2 separate regions of the Homo sapiens genome follow, and region 1 is linked to region 2. Evidence: promoter capture Hi-C in 16 types of primary human blood cells and fetal thymus (Javierre and others, 2016). All regions are on one chromosome and are shown on one strand. Each heading gives the region's core, a stretch centred on a gene start or on the middle of the fragment in contact. The rest is flanking DNA. Distances are from core to core; before and after follow the strand shown. Region 1 overlaps DYNLT1 (dynein light chain Tctex-type 1). Region 2 holds the start of TCP1 (t-complex 1).

The links. Contacts are between HindIII fragments. The CHiCAGO score rates a contact against its expected background, and 5 or more counts as called.
Region 1: a contact is called between a fragment that was not itself captured here and the fragment with the promoter of TCP1 in region 2, in 1 of 17 cell types (neutrophils). The highest score is 5.7, in neutrophils.

The regions. Positions count from the first base shown.
Region 1 is chr6:158,633,727-158,640,319 of GRCh38, reverse strand. DYNLT1 (dynein light chain Tctex-type 1) reads left to right here. Exons shown (of 5, transcript NM_006519.4): 3 at 2,426-2,549; 4 at 3,115-3,192; 5 at 3,423-3,846. The coding sequence ends at 3,493. TMEM181 (transmembrane protein 181) reads right to left here. Exons shown (of 17, transcript NM_001376852.1): 17 at 4,891-6,593. Among named protein-coding and RNA genes, the nearest start is that of DYNLT1, 7.7 kb to the left of the region's middle. The HindIII fragment of the contact is 4,116 bases long and covers 1,472-5,587 here.
Region 2 is chr6:159,788,288-159,794,754 of GRCh38, reverse strand. TCP1 (t-complex 1) reads left to right here and starts at 5,153. Exons shown (of 12, transcript NM_030752.3): 1 at 5,153-5,350. The coding sequence starts at 5,287. MRPL18 (mitochondrial ribosomal protein L18) reads right to left here and starts at 4,288. Exons shown (of 4, transcript NM_014161.5): 1 at 4,116-4,288; 2 at 3,629-3,815. The coding sequence starts at 4,167. RefSeq lists enhancers at 4,101-4,160, 4,191-4,370, 4,627-5,290, 5,291-5,955. The HindIII fragment of the contact is 4,019 bases long and covers 3,172-6,467 here.

The sequences.
Region 1 (6,593 bases), core at 2,280-4,779, 1.2 Mb after region 2:
GTAAATTATTGACTAGTGTTTGATAAAAAACCGCAACCTATGTTTGTGATCAGTATCCAAAGGCAAAATGATTTTGTTTGACCATTTACATTGTTCAGCATCAGGAGTGACTTTCTGGTTGCTTTGCAGGATCTGTACGTTTGGTTTTCATGGTTTTTCTAAATACACAGTTTCACGTGGAACACAGCAGGGGGCAGGAAGGTGGGTGGATTACACCAGAACTGGGAACAGTGGAGGGGGCTTGTTGGGAAGTCTAGTTCTGCCGCAGTTGTTTTCTGCCTTATCTTTGACTTGGTTACCAGCTTTCAATTAGCAAGTGCAATTGAAAGTACACATTTCCATGCTGGGCGCGATGGCTCACACCTGTCATCCCAGCACATTGGGAGGCCGAGGTGGGCGGATCATGAGGTCAAGAGATCGAGACCATCCTGTCCAACATGGTGAAACCCCGTCTCTACTAAAAATACAAAAATAAGCCAGGCTTGGTGGCGCATGCCTGTAGTCCCAGCTCCTTGGGAGGCTGAGGCAGGAGAATCGCTTGAACCCGGGAGATGGAGGGTGCAGTAAGCCAAGATCACGCCACTGCAATCCAGTCTGGGCGACAGAGCAAGACTCTGTCTTAAAAAAACAAAACAAAACAAACACATTTCCAATCCACATGGAAACATGAGGTGACATTGCAGTGTTACTTGAACTTGTGTCACTGGCCTCAACAGCTTTTTTGCCGCCGCAATAGGTAATTCTGTACTCAAGTGACCCTAAATATTGGGTAGTAGTCAATTTGCGCAGGTCCAAAATTGGTGGAGGGTTCCCTCCTCCTTGAAAAACTGAATTTCAAAGTATGTGCGGAGGGAGAGCTGGCGGAGGGAGAGGTTTACCTTCAACAAAGCCTCCCCCACCCTTTGACGGGAGAGGTTTAGCTTGAACAAAGCCCCCCCTACCCTTTGACAATGCCCAGGTCTAGTAATACTGCTGTTCTCTTAAACCGGGACTTCTGGCCCCCCAGCCCTCTTGTAGCCTCTGAGCTGGGAGGGAGCACAGTGGCCGAGGACAAGAAGTAAGCCAGCCCTATGTGTAACGTGACTACTCAAGAGTCTCAGGGAGATGATCAGCAGGTCAGTGGGTAGAAATCAGAGTGACCTAGGGAGGTTTTAGGTCCTCAAAAGCAAGGTCGCCAGATCTAAGCCCCAGGCATCAGATCCCAGTCCATCACCACCATGCACAGCTCAGATCCCTGGACTGCTGGTTTGCTCTGCCTGTCTGAGGACAGACCTTGGCCCTCACTGAATGTTGTTATTTTCACTTTAGGTCATAACTGTCATAGAAACTCAGGTTCCTGGTTTCCAGCACAGCAAGTTAGGGGTAGAGAATAAAGTTGCTGAGATGCAAGCACACTGGCATCCATGTGAAAGGGGAGCTGACAATGAAAAACTCAGAAAATCATACAATGGCAATATCATAATGATAAGCTTAGCAAGAGCAGCGACAATGAGCTTGCATTGTCAGATAACCCCCAAAGAATACAGCATAGATAAAGAAGTAAACGTATAATAAAGAAAAAAAGTTGGGCTGGGTGCTGTGGCTTATGCCTGTAATCCCAGCACTTTAGGAGGCTGAGGCAGGAGGATCACTTGAGCCCAGGCATTTGAGAGCAGCCTGGGCAACAGAGCAAGACCCCATCTCTACAAAAAACTAGCCAGGCGTGGTGGCACATGCCTGCAGTCCCAGCTACTGGACAAGCTGAGGTGGGAGGATTGCTTGAGCCCAGGAGGGAAGCTGAGGTGGGAGGATTGCTTGAGCCCAGGAGGTCAAGGCTGCAGTGAGCCAAGATTCCATCACTGCTCTCCAGCCTGGGCAACATGACACCCTGCCTCAGAAAAGTAAAAATAAAAAAATCTCATCATAAACCTAAAATAAGTTTTGGAATATAAAGGGCTTTTAGTTATCTGAAAAATGCACTTAATGTGGTAACATGTTCTCAGACAATGCTGGATAAAAGTATTTTTTAATATATGATTATTTGGATAGCTTTGTATATTGTCAGTTGTACAAATACAATTCATCTAATATATAGTATTAGTGTATGTTAGGTAGTAGTAGATAAAAGTAATATACTTTTAAGAAATGAATAGGCAAAATACTTTCTAGCCTCAACAGGAAAAAAAATGTATTAATAGTAGTGAACATGAAATGTGATTATTAGGTCAAAATGTGTAAATAATTTGACAGACTATGAATTTTTGAAGCAAATTTCAAACTTATTTAAATGAAATATAATGCTATTAAAAGTATATTTGCAAAGGCACCCTCATGATTAAAAATAAACTTTTCATAAATCACTTCTTGGGGTGCCGTCAGTTCCTGATTGAAAGGTGGTGTGGGTGCATTTGGTTAACCGGGACGCGCTTTGTGCTTTGTTTTCTAGGCTATAGAAAGCGCAATTGGTGGTAACGCTTATCAACACAGCAAAGTGAACCAGTGGACCACAAATGTAGTAGAACAAACTTTAAGCCAACTCACCAAGCTGGGAAAACCATTTAAATACATCGGTAATGGAGTCTTGTTTCTTTTATATTTGCGGGATGGTTTTTTAACACTGATCAGAGGGGCATCCAGTACCAGAAACAACAGCTAACGTGGCTCAACTCAAGGAAGGCTCCTGGTGGGAGTCGGTCGTGTGTGTAGTATACGTTAGCGTACGCTTGACCATTTGGCTGCTGGTACAATTGCAGATCGTATGTGAAGCGGGATCTTACAGGAGGTCCCATCAGATGCTTTTAGAACAAGTGAAGCATAGAGGAAGTGTGGACAGCCCCCAGCTGACAGTGGCTCAACTTAGAATTTTTCAACTTTGATGGATTTACCAGGGTATTAAGTGCATTTGCAACTTACATTTTCATATATTGTTGATTTATGATGGGTTTATGGGATGTTGTAAGTCAAGGAGCACCTATAATTTGTCAATATAGTGAGACAAGGCAATCTGTCCCTATAATTTTTATCGAGAACATCAACCACGTGGAGCTACATACATTGTACGTTTGCTAAAAGTGGACAGAATGACATTTGTGTTACCCAGTAGACTTCTCTAACAAAAATTTGTTTTAACTTAAGTGACCTGTGTAATTATGCAGAAGAATGGAGCTGGATTACACACAGCAAGTTCCTGCTTCTGGGACAGCTCTACTGACGGTATGATTTTCATTCATGTTTGTGAAGTTTTGTTGTGTGAAATATATGACTGGAAGTTTCCTATCTTTGAATGCAATGCATGTTTATCACCTTTTAAAACATTTAATAATAGACTTGCCAAGGTTCTTTGTGTAGCATAGAGATGGGTACTTGAATGTTGGCCTTATTGTGAGTAAAACGTCGTCCCCCAGCTTTCCCTGCCGTAAATGCTGCTCTCTTCCCTCCCGCAGGGAGCTGCACTGTGCGATGGGAGAATAAGACCATGTACTGCATCGTCAGTGCCTTCGGACTGTCTATTTGACCTGCAGTCCAGCCTATGGCCTTTCTCCTTTTGTCTCTAGTTCATCCTCTAACCACCAGCCATGAATTCAGTGAACTCTTTTCTCATTCTCTTTGTTTTGTGGCACTTTCACAATGTAGAGGAAAAAACCAAATGACCGCACTGTGATGTGAATGGCACCGAAGTCAGATGAGTATCCCTGTAGGTCACCTGCAGCCTGCGTTGCCACTTGTCTTAACTCTGAATATTTCATTTCAAAGGTGCTAAAATCTGAAATCTGCTAGTGTGAAACTTGCTCTACTCTCTGAAATGATTCAAATACACTAATTTTCCATACTTTATACTTTTGTTAGAATAAATTATTCAAATCTAAAGTCTGTTGTGTTCTTCATAGTCTGCATAGTATCATAAACGATTTCTTCATAGTGAGTGGCTACAGAATCTATACAACCAGACCAGGCGCAGTGGCTCACACCTGTAATCCCACCACTTTGGGAGGCTGAGGCAGGCGGATCATGAGGTCAGGAGATCAAGACCATCCTGTCTAACACGGTGAAACCCCGTCTCTACTAAAAATACCAAAAATTAGCCAGGTGTGGTGGCGGGCGCCTGTAGTCCCAGCTACTCGGGAGGCTGAGGCAGGAGAGTGGCATGAACCCAGGAGGCAGAGGTTGTAGTGAGCCAAGATCGTGAGCCAAGTTCCCGCCACTGCACTCCAGCCTGGGTGACAAGAGCAAGAGTCCGCCTCAAAAAAAAAAAAAAAAAAAAAAAAAAAAAATATATATATATATATATACAACCAAAAAAAAAAAAGTTCTGCTGTGGTCCTCTCCATGATGTACTCATTTTACCCGTGGGACCAGGATCCTGACGGCTCTGCTGGGTTCTGGTTAGATTCCTACCCCTCGGCATCACACCTCCCATTCTTAAGCCCTCCTCTTCTAGAGGTGAAGGGGTGGGAGGTGGGCAAACCAATTTCTATTCTCTTAGCCAGAGAGCTCTAACTCACACTTGGCCCAAAGCTGTAACACCTTAACTGTTAATCCTGTGTTCTCTGTAGGGCTCACAAATTGTCTTAGTACTTCAGAGCTTACAAAATGGTTTTCACAATCATTCATTCTGTGTCTTCAACAATTTGCAGTCATTTAAAAATCTCAGAAAATGTGTTTGGAGGTTATCTGATTGGTTTAAAGTCACACATCCAAGTTGGGAGCTGGGCCCAAACCCACGCCTTGTCTCCATCTTGAGTGCTCTTCCCCAGGCCACATTAGACATGGCAATAAAGATACCTCCGTGCCTGCCTGCTGAAATGGAAAAGCCCTGCCGTTGTCTCCAAAGCCGCTTTATTAAAGCATTTATGTCTGCAAGGCCAAATTAACTCCACACACAAAGAGCAAACAAATCAAGACACATAGAAGTGAATATTAAAAATTTATTAACATTTCCCAGAAAGGTAGTGTCAGAATTAAGCCATTCGCAAAAGACGAATTTGCCATAAACAAACATTCACTTTTGCCTGATGACAGCAACACTGTGATGGGGTGGCACTGTGCCCCACGGACAGGTCCACAACTGAACACATGGCTCTATCTCTCCTTTTGGGCTTAAAGTTTAGTGTTATTTTATTTTACAAATATTTACAGTCATTTTGTAAAAAGGCAGTTTTTAGTAGCAGAAAATTCTTCTGTTTTATAGTATGGTATCACAGTTACTAGCGTATCTCCAATGTCAAACCAAGATAAACAGCATCACAAGATGTCACAGACTAATACAACTTCCCTTTGGCCAGGGGAAAAGATCTGTATCTTTTTTTTTTTTTCTTCAAAAGTCTAACCTCTAAGGCAACCGGTTTCTAAAACCCTCAAAATACACAAATACACTTTCATGTTTTAAGTCTCATCTTCACTAAATGTTCAGACACATCCGTTTTAATTATCCCTTTTATGAGGGTCTGTGTTTTTCCTGTGATAAAGGATTCAGGAAATAATTTACCACATTATAATCTATTTAACATAACTACCCTCAGTAAATAGTTCATAAAATACTTGAGGCTGGTGACATTTGTCTTGTAACCTGCTCATTTAGTGGGTTGGGTTTACAAAATGTATCTAAGCTTTTATTGCAATCTGCAATTATGTACATTAACAACCTTACAAACCTTGAACATAGTATATATATCCCCTTCTCTAGCCTTTCAAATGGGGCTTAAGAGAGAGAAAATGGCACCACTTCACTGCTATAATGATTTAATAATAAATCAAGCAGACTTATCATCCACATGGATAACGAAGCTCTCCCTAGGGAAACTGAAATACCTCTGGTCATCTTCCAGGTTCTCCTAGACTGGACCAGTATTTAAAAAATCCCAAAGATGATGTTACTCAAGCCATTACCATGAAGGAACTAAAGTCAGCCCTTTAAGTTCGCAAAACTTTAACATAACTACCCTCAGTAAATAATTTATTTTTTCTTCAACAATTTTCTTGCTACTGTCAAAAGTTTCTGGCAGACTTTAGTGTTTTAACCTGATACCTATGGTACATATTCTACATGCCAAGTGCTAGAGAGTTTAAGCAAAATTTTACATGGGGTATGTAATATGTCGGTATTTATGATATACCAGGGAAGACAAGTTGAAAATACATGACTTAGTAAGAACGATTTTCCCCTTAAGTACTTTCTAACTTTTTTTCTTATTTCCCACTTAGTTACAAAAAGTAAATAAATAATCCTATATTTTTCATTTCATTGATGCATGAAGACTCAATGTATGAAGATAATAGTCATCAGTTTATAATTACACTATAGGACAAAGTTTTAAAAAGTTCTAGTGTGTGTATGGCTAAATGCCTCAAATATTTTACATTTACTGATAAATAACAGCATTCCAAAATCATGGACAATTATGATTAAAAGTTGTAAACCATATCACAGAATATGTTAATCAGCACATCTTCATCAGTTTACATAAAGTTATAGTAGTCTTATTAGAAGTTGTAAAATTTGGTAACAGAAAATTTTTTTCAATACACAGAATAAAAAAAACATCATTGCAAATTTAAAAATCATGTAAACTTGAATTACCCTTGCAGTAAGTTGTCTTAAACATTCATATTTACAA
Region 2 (6,467 bases), core at 3,904-6,403:
GGGCAACCCACCCCTTCATAACTTAATAGGCAAAGCATTATCCAAACAGACTGTTCACAGAAAAGAAAAATATTAATGACTCAAATTCACAAAAATATGCTCAATCTCACTAACAAAATGCATGGACAAGACAATTCGATGCAACACTGTAATCATAAAAGATAATCACCCTCTAGGAGCGAGTTAAGTAAAATCCATGCAATAGTATTCCATACAGTTACTGAAATGAATGAAATAATGCTTTATAATGATGAAGATAATAGTTAACATTTACTGAGCACTTAGTATATGCCAGGCCTGTCTTAACGGTTTATAGATAAAGCTTATGTCTCAATTCTATTATTTTTTCTATATTTTTTTTTAGCTGCAGAAACTAACACAGAAAGGTTAAGTAACTTGAAAAAGATTAAAACTAGTAAGTAATGGAGCCATGGTTTAAGTCCCAGTGTCTGGCTCCAGAGTCAATGCTCTTAACTACCATGAAGAATCTCCAAGATGTATTTTTAAGTGCGTGCTTGGGGTGGTTGAGGGTGGTGGTGAAGAAAGATGCGGAAGTGTTTATCGTATGCTAAGATTTATTGTTTTTAACAGTTTTTGCTTATATGCATAGACAATCTTTAGAAGGACACACAAGAAACTGTACTCCCTTTGGATTTTATAACATACGTATATGTTACCCTTTAAAAAGTCAAGTTTAAGTTAAAGAAAACACACCCAAATCATTAGATTCTCACTAGGATTCTCAATGTGAAATAGAAGAGGCATTAGATTTGGAAATATGGAGTCTACTCCTGGTTTTCCTGGTGGCTCTAGTAAAAAATCACAATCTCTTTTTTTTTTTTTGAGACGGAGTCTCAGTCTGTTGCCCAGGCTGGAGTGCAGTGGCGCGATCTCGGCTCACTGCAAGCTCCGCCTCCCAGGTTCACGCCACTCTCCTGTCTCAGCCTCCCTAGTAGCTGGGACTACAGGTGCCTGCCACCACGCCTGGCTAATTTTTTTGTGTATTTTTAGTAGAGACGGGGTTTCACCGTGTTAGCCAGGATGGTCTTGATCTCCTGACCTCGTGATCCGCCCGCCTCGACCTCCCAAAGTGCTGGGATTACAAACGTGAGCCACCGCGCCCGGCCAAAAATCACAATCTGTTAAACCAGGAGTCAACAATCTTTTTCCACAAAGTGCCAGATAGTAAATATTTTAGGCTTTCTAGGTCCAATAGCTTCTGTTGAAACTGTTCGACTCAGCCATTGTAGTGCTAGAACAGCCAGGTGATGCGTAAACAAATGAGAGTAGGTACAGCTAGGTTCTAAGAACCTGGGCAACGAAATTTGATTTTCATTTAATTTTCCCAAGCCACAAAATATTCTTTTGATTTTTTTTTTAACTTAAAAAAAGTAAAAACAAGTTTTTAGCTCACAATCTACCTTTGGCCCACGGGCCGTAGTTTGCTGACACTTGAACCATTTGTTCAATGAAGGGCCCGATTCATTATGTCAAAGGTCATTTCCTACTATAATATTCTGAAATTCTCTACTTTTAATATTGCGAGTAAGGCAGACAGAGAAAAAATGAGGAAATACATCTTTAGTTATTTTTAATGATCCAAATATTAAATCAAAGTAATGCGTTGGGGCCGAGTGCAGTGGCTCACGTCTGTAATCCCAGCACCTTGGGAGGCTGAATCAGGCAGATCTCTCGAGCTCAAGAGCTCGAGACCAGCCTGGGCAGCAGCAAAACCCCATCTCTACAAAAAATACCAGAAAAAAAAAAAAAGAAAAAGAAAAAAATTAGCCGGCCATGGTAGTGTGTGCCTGCAGTCCCAGATGCTCAGGAAGCTGAGATGGGAGAATCGTTTGAGCCTGGGAGGCAGAGGTTGCAGCCAGCTGATACTGTACCACTGCACTCCAGCCTGGGTGATAGAGCCAGAGCTTGTCTCAAACAAAACAAAACAAATTAGCTGGGAGTAATGGCATGCGCCTCTAGTCCCAGCCACTCAGGAGGCTGAGGTGGGAAGATTGCTGGAGCCCAGGGAAGTCAAGGATGCAGTAAGCAGATATCATACCACTGCATTCTAGCCTGGGCAACAGACCCAGACCCTGTCTCAAAAACAAAGAAAAAAGAAAGTAATAGGTTGGGTGTTTCAAAAGATTTTTAGCCTTAAGATCCAGATTATTTAAAAAGTGAACTGCCTACTCCCTTTCTTGGACTCCCTCCTCTATGAGTAAAAATGTATTACAGCAACTGTAACACATCATTATCCCCATTCCACTTTCCACTATGAAACTTAAGACTTTTGATGACAGGGATAACATCTACTTTATCTTTGTAACTCCTGCCTCTAACGCAATGCCTAGCAAGTGATACAGGTATGATGCTTGTTCAATAAATAAATAATACATCACACAGTAATGATTTCCAATTTACTCTTACAACTTTACATAGTACTTAAGAAGTCCTTAAGAAATTCTAAAAAATCCTCACCAAGCAGATAAGCAGCAGATAAACCTGATAAACACTTACATGCTGTAGTATAGTGGTAATAACCTAGCGTCCTGGCTCTGAGGTCAGTTAAAACATATGTAAATCTTAGCTCTGGCACTTACTAATCATGTCTCCCTAAACCTCAATTTCTTTGATCCTGTAAAATGGGGGAAATTATAACTGCTTCATGATGTAATTTTAAGGATTAAATGAGAAAAAACATATAAAGCAAGTAGCATAATTCCTGGCAAATGTAAGTGTTCATTAAACAACCACCTTTATAACAAAGTATCTCAAGTCATACTAGACTCCTAACTGGTCTTTCTTCAAGTCCTGCTCCCTCAAAAATTTAATCTTCCAAAAAGCAGCTAAAATGATTTTTTTTTTTTTGAGACAGAATTTTGCTCTGTCGCCCAGGCGCTCAGCTCACTGCAACCTCCGCCTCCTGGGTTCAAGTGATTCTCGTGCCTCAGCCACTGGAGTAGCTGGGATTACAGGCGTGCACCACCACGCCCCTCTAATTTTTATATTTTTAGTAGAGACGGGGTTTCACCATGTTGGCCAGGTTGGTCTCAAACTCCTGACCTCAGATGATCCGGCTTCTTCGGCTGGCTCCCTAAAGTGCTGGGATTACAGGCATGAGACAATGCGCCCAGCCAGAATGATCTTGAAAAACCAATTCGGGCTCAAGCTTTAAATCCTCTCGTAGTTTCCCACTATAATGAAAAGAAAGTCTAAAGTGCTCATCTTGACTTACAAAGCTAATCATCTGTCGCCTCCTTACCCCTCCATGTTCATCTTGGGCCATTCATCCTCTGCCCATTGAGCTTCAGATCCACAAGCCCTTCAGTTCCTCACCCCAGCAGTTTCCTTTGCTAGGACTGCTCTTTCTGGCAGATGACTAGGCTTCTTCCTCTTTCAGATCTCACCTTCTTAAATGTCACCTCAGACAGGCAGGTATCCTGTCCGCTACTGTAACATCCTCTTTAAATAGCCCCCATCACACCTATTTGTTGTTTGTTCCAGCCCCTCCGCGAACCCTGCCTCTACCCGCCGCATGGCAGCTACCTGGGAGAGTGCCTGGAGTTGAATGAATGAAAATAGTCTGTAGGGTGCACTGCCCTTGTCAATCACAAGCAGATTTAATTACCTGTGCCAGAACTCACGGGAGGGAAACACCGTCCGCCAGCCCCGCTCTTTCCTGGCTACAGATAAAAGCTCCAGGTTCCGGGGGTTCCGGTTGGTGAATTCTGGGGCGACAGCTTCATTTTCCACAGGGTCCACTTCAGGTTTCGCTGCCGGCTCGGAGCTGGTTGACAGGGCTGCGAACCTGCACCCTGGGCAACGGGAAAAACCGCACAGGGCTTAAAAATGACGGATATGGACAGCGCACGAACCCGCTCTAACGTCTATCCGCTTTTACACCCCCAATCTTTAGGCCCGAGGGGACGAAAAATACGTATGCCCACAGGGTGGAGTCAGCACTGACCCCGTCCTTAACTTCCTACTGTGGTCTTCGCAGTGCCGCGAGCTCTATTTCGATCCGGCACGTCGAATACAAAATAGAACCCGCACGTTCCAATGTACTGTGCAAGCCCAGGCGAGTGAGCTGGGAGAAGGGGGGCAAGACTAATTACCAGGGTTCCTGCAAACCGAGAACAACCCCCAAAACCGCGACCGAAGCGCCATCGCTGAGACGATCTCGGAAAAGCCTCGCCTCTTTTTCCTCACGGACGACTCAGTCGCTCGCCAGGAGCAGCCATATAAAGTCAGGGACAAGCCTTTGGCTGCTGTAGATCCCCAAACTCTCCACGCCAGACGCCACCGACCCGGAAGTAGCAAGTCCCCTGCCACTGAGTGGCCGAGAAGGCGATCTGTTATCCTTCATCGCCAATCATCGCTCACGTCGAGGGGCACGCAGGCCCTGGAGCCCACCAACCACCTCGTAGCTACGCCCAAGACCACGCTTGTTGCTTAAGTCCGGGGTCAAAGGCACACACCCCACAAAACCATGTTTGGGTTTTCTACTCGGAGAGCTTGGGCGGTCATCGACTGGTCCACACACACCCCACCTGGGCACCGCGTAGGAATAAGGCAGGGCAAGATGCAGTTTTCTCCTTAAAAAGGGTGGTTGTCTTCCTCGAACCAAAAATTTTCCCGTATGGCCCGCTGGAAAAACTGCCCCGTCCCACCCAGGTTCGCGCCCTTAAACTTACACTCCTGAGGCCTGGAGCAAAGCCGGCCGATCTGCCTCACGCTCCCCGAGCAGGGACAAGGAAAAGACACTAAACCTAAAACGCACGACTCGCTCAGAACCCCAACTCTAACTTGGAGAAGGGCCCGCCCCTCCAGTTACACCCCAGCTCCAAGCTCCACCCTTCTTACAACCTTTTCTAGAAGGCACTAGAATGGCCCACTGCGTCTGCGCAACATCGTTTGAGGCGAAGGTTCAACCTCTTCCCAGCGGTCCAACATCCGACTTCCGTTCTCCGCTTTCGCGCCCTTCCCATCGGCTATCTAATTGGACAAAAATGCCGACCCCGCCCCTTCCCCGGAGCCTCACTTCCGTCACAGTCCTGTTTCTCTCCCTGTTGTCCCTGCCTCTTTTTCCTTCCCGCCGTGCCCCGCGGCCGGGCCGGGGCAGCCGGGAAGCGGGTGGGGTGGTGTGTTACCCAGTAGCTCCTGGGACATCGCTCGGGTACGCTCCACGCCGTCGCAGCCACTGCTGTGGTCGCCGGTCGGCCGAGGGGCCGCGATACTGGTTGCCCGCGGTGTAAGCAGAATTCGACGTGTATCGCTGCCGTCAAGATGGAGGGGCCTTTGTCCGTGTTCGGTGACCGCAGCACTGGGGAAACGATCCGCTCCCAAAACGGTAAGGGCGGGCCGGGCCTGGGTCGGGTTTGCGGCCGGGGAGGGCCGAGTCCCACCGCGACCGGACCCCGGCTGCCCTCGTTTCTCTCCTTTACCTCCGCAGAAAGGGCCTCGGGGCCCCGCAGCCGGACCCAGCCCACCCGCCGTTCTCTGGGGCAGGGCGCTGTGGCCCCACTTTTCCCACAGCGAGGAGGAGCCCCGCCGCGCGCGGCAGGGTTTTGAGACCGGCAACGCGTGGATGTGGTGTCCGGGGCGGCGTTGGAAACGCGCCCTCCGCGGGAAAGCGGGCCTCCCGGGCTCGCACGTGCGGGCCACGCCTCGCACCCCCTTTTGTTTCAGGGCGACCCCCTGAGTGTCCATGTTAAACGCCAGGTTTTATTTTAGGACCATTTACCAGAAAAAGAGTAGGTCCATCCGCGCGCCCTCGGATGAGCCCGGTGCCCTGTCCGCCCGCAGCTGCAGTCGAGGTCGGGCGTCCGGCGTCCAGCCGTATCCGGGTTGACAGCTTCTTACAGTAGAGTTAGCCCAGGAAACGCCACTCGAGTGCATTGACCCCAGGAGACGGCAGCGCTAACTTAGCAGAGCGTTTGCTGTCAGGCCTTTGGATACCTACAGAGCTTACTGTTTCTTGATAGATTCCTAATTTTTTTCGTAAACAAATCTGAAAGTCACCACCTTCCCCGTTGACTACCGATTTCTCTCCTCACAGATAAAGAGAGTTTTAATGAGCAAAAAACTTGCAGAATCTGAAGGAAAAGGCTGGTATAGCTGTACGAAGTGGCAGAGCATGAAATTGGTGGTTATTACTTTTTTTTTTTTTCCCCGCCATCAGATTCCACCCCGCATCAAAGCTGTGCCAAATAGGCTCGCTTTGTTTAGGGACAGGGTCCCACCTGTCGCCCAGACGAGAGTGCCATCATAGCTCACTGCATTCTCCAAGCACAGGTCCGCGCCGCCGCATCCGGCTTTGTTTTTATTTTTTGTAGAAATGGGTTTCGCTATGTTGCCCAAAGGGGTCTCAAACTCCTGGCATCAAGCGATCCTCCTGCCTCGGCCTCGCAGTGTTGGGATTACACCTGTGAGCCACAGTGTCTGGCCCCATTTACACTCTTAGTAGG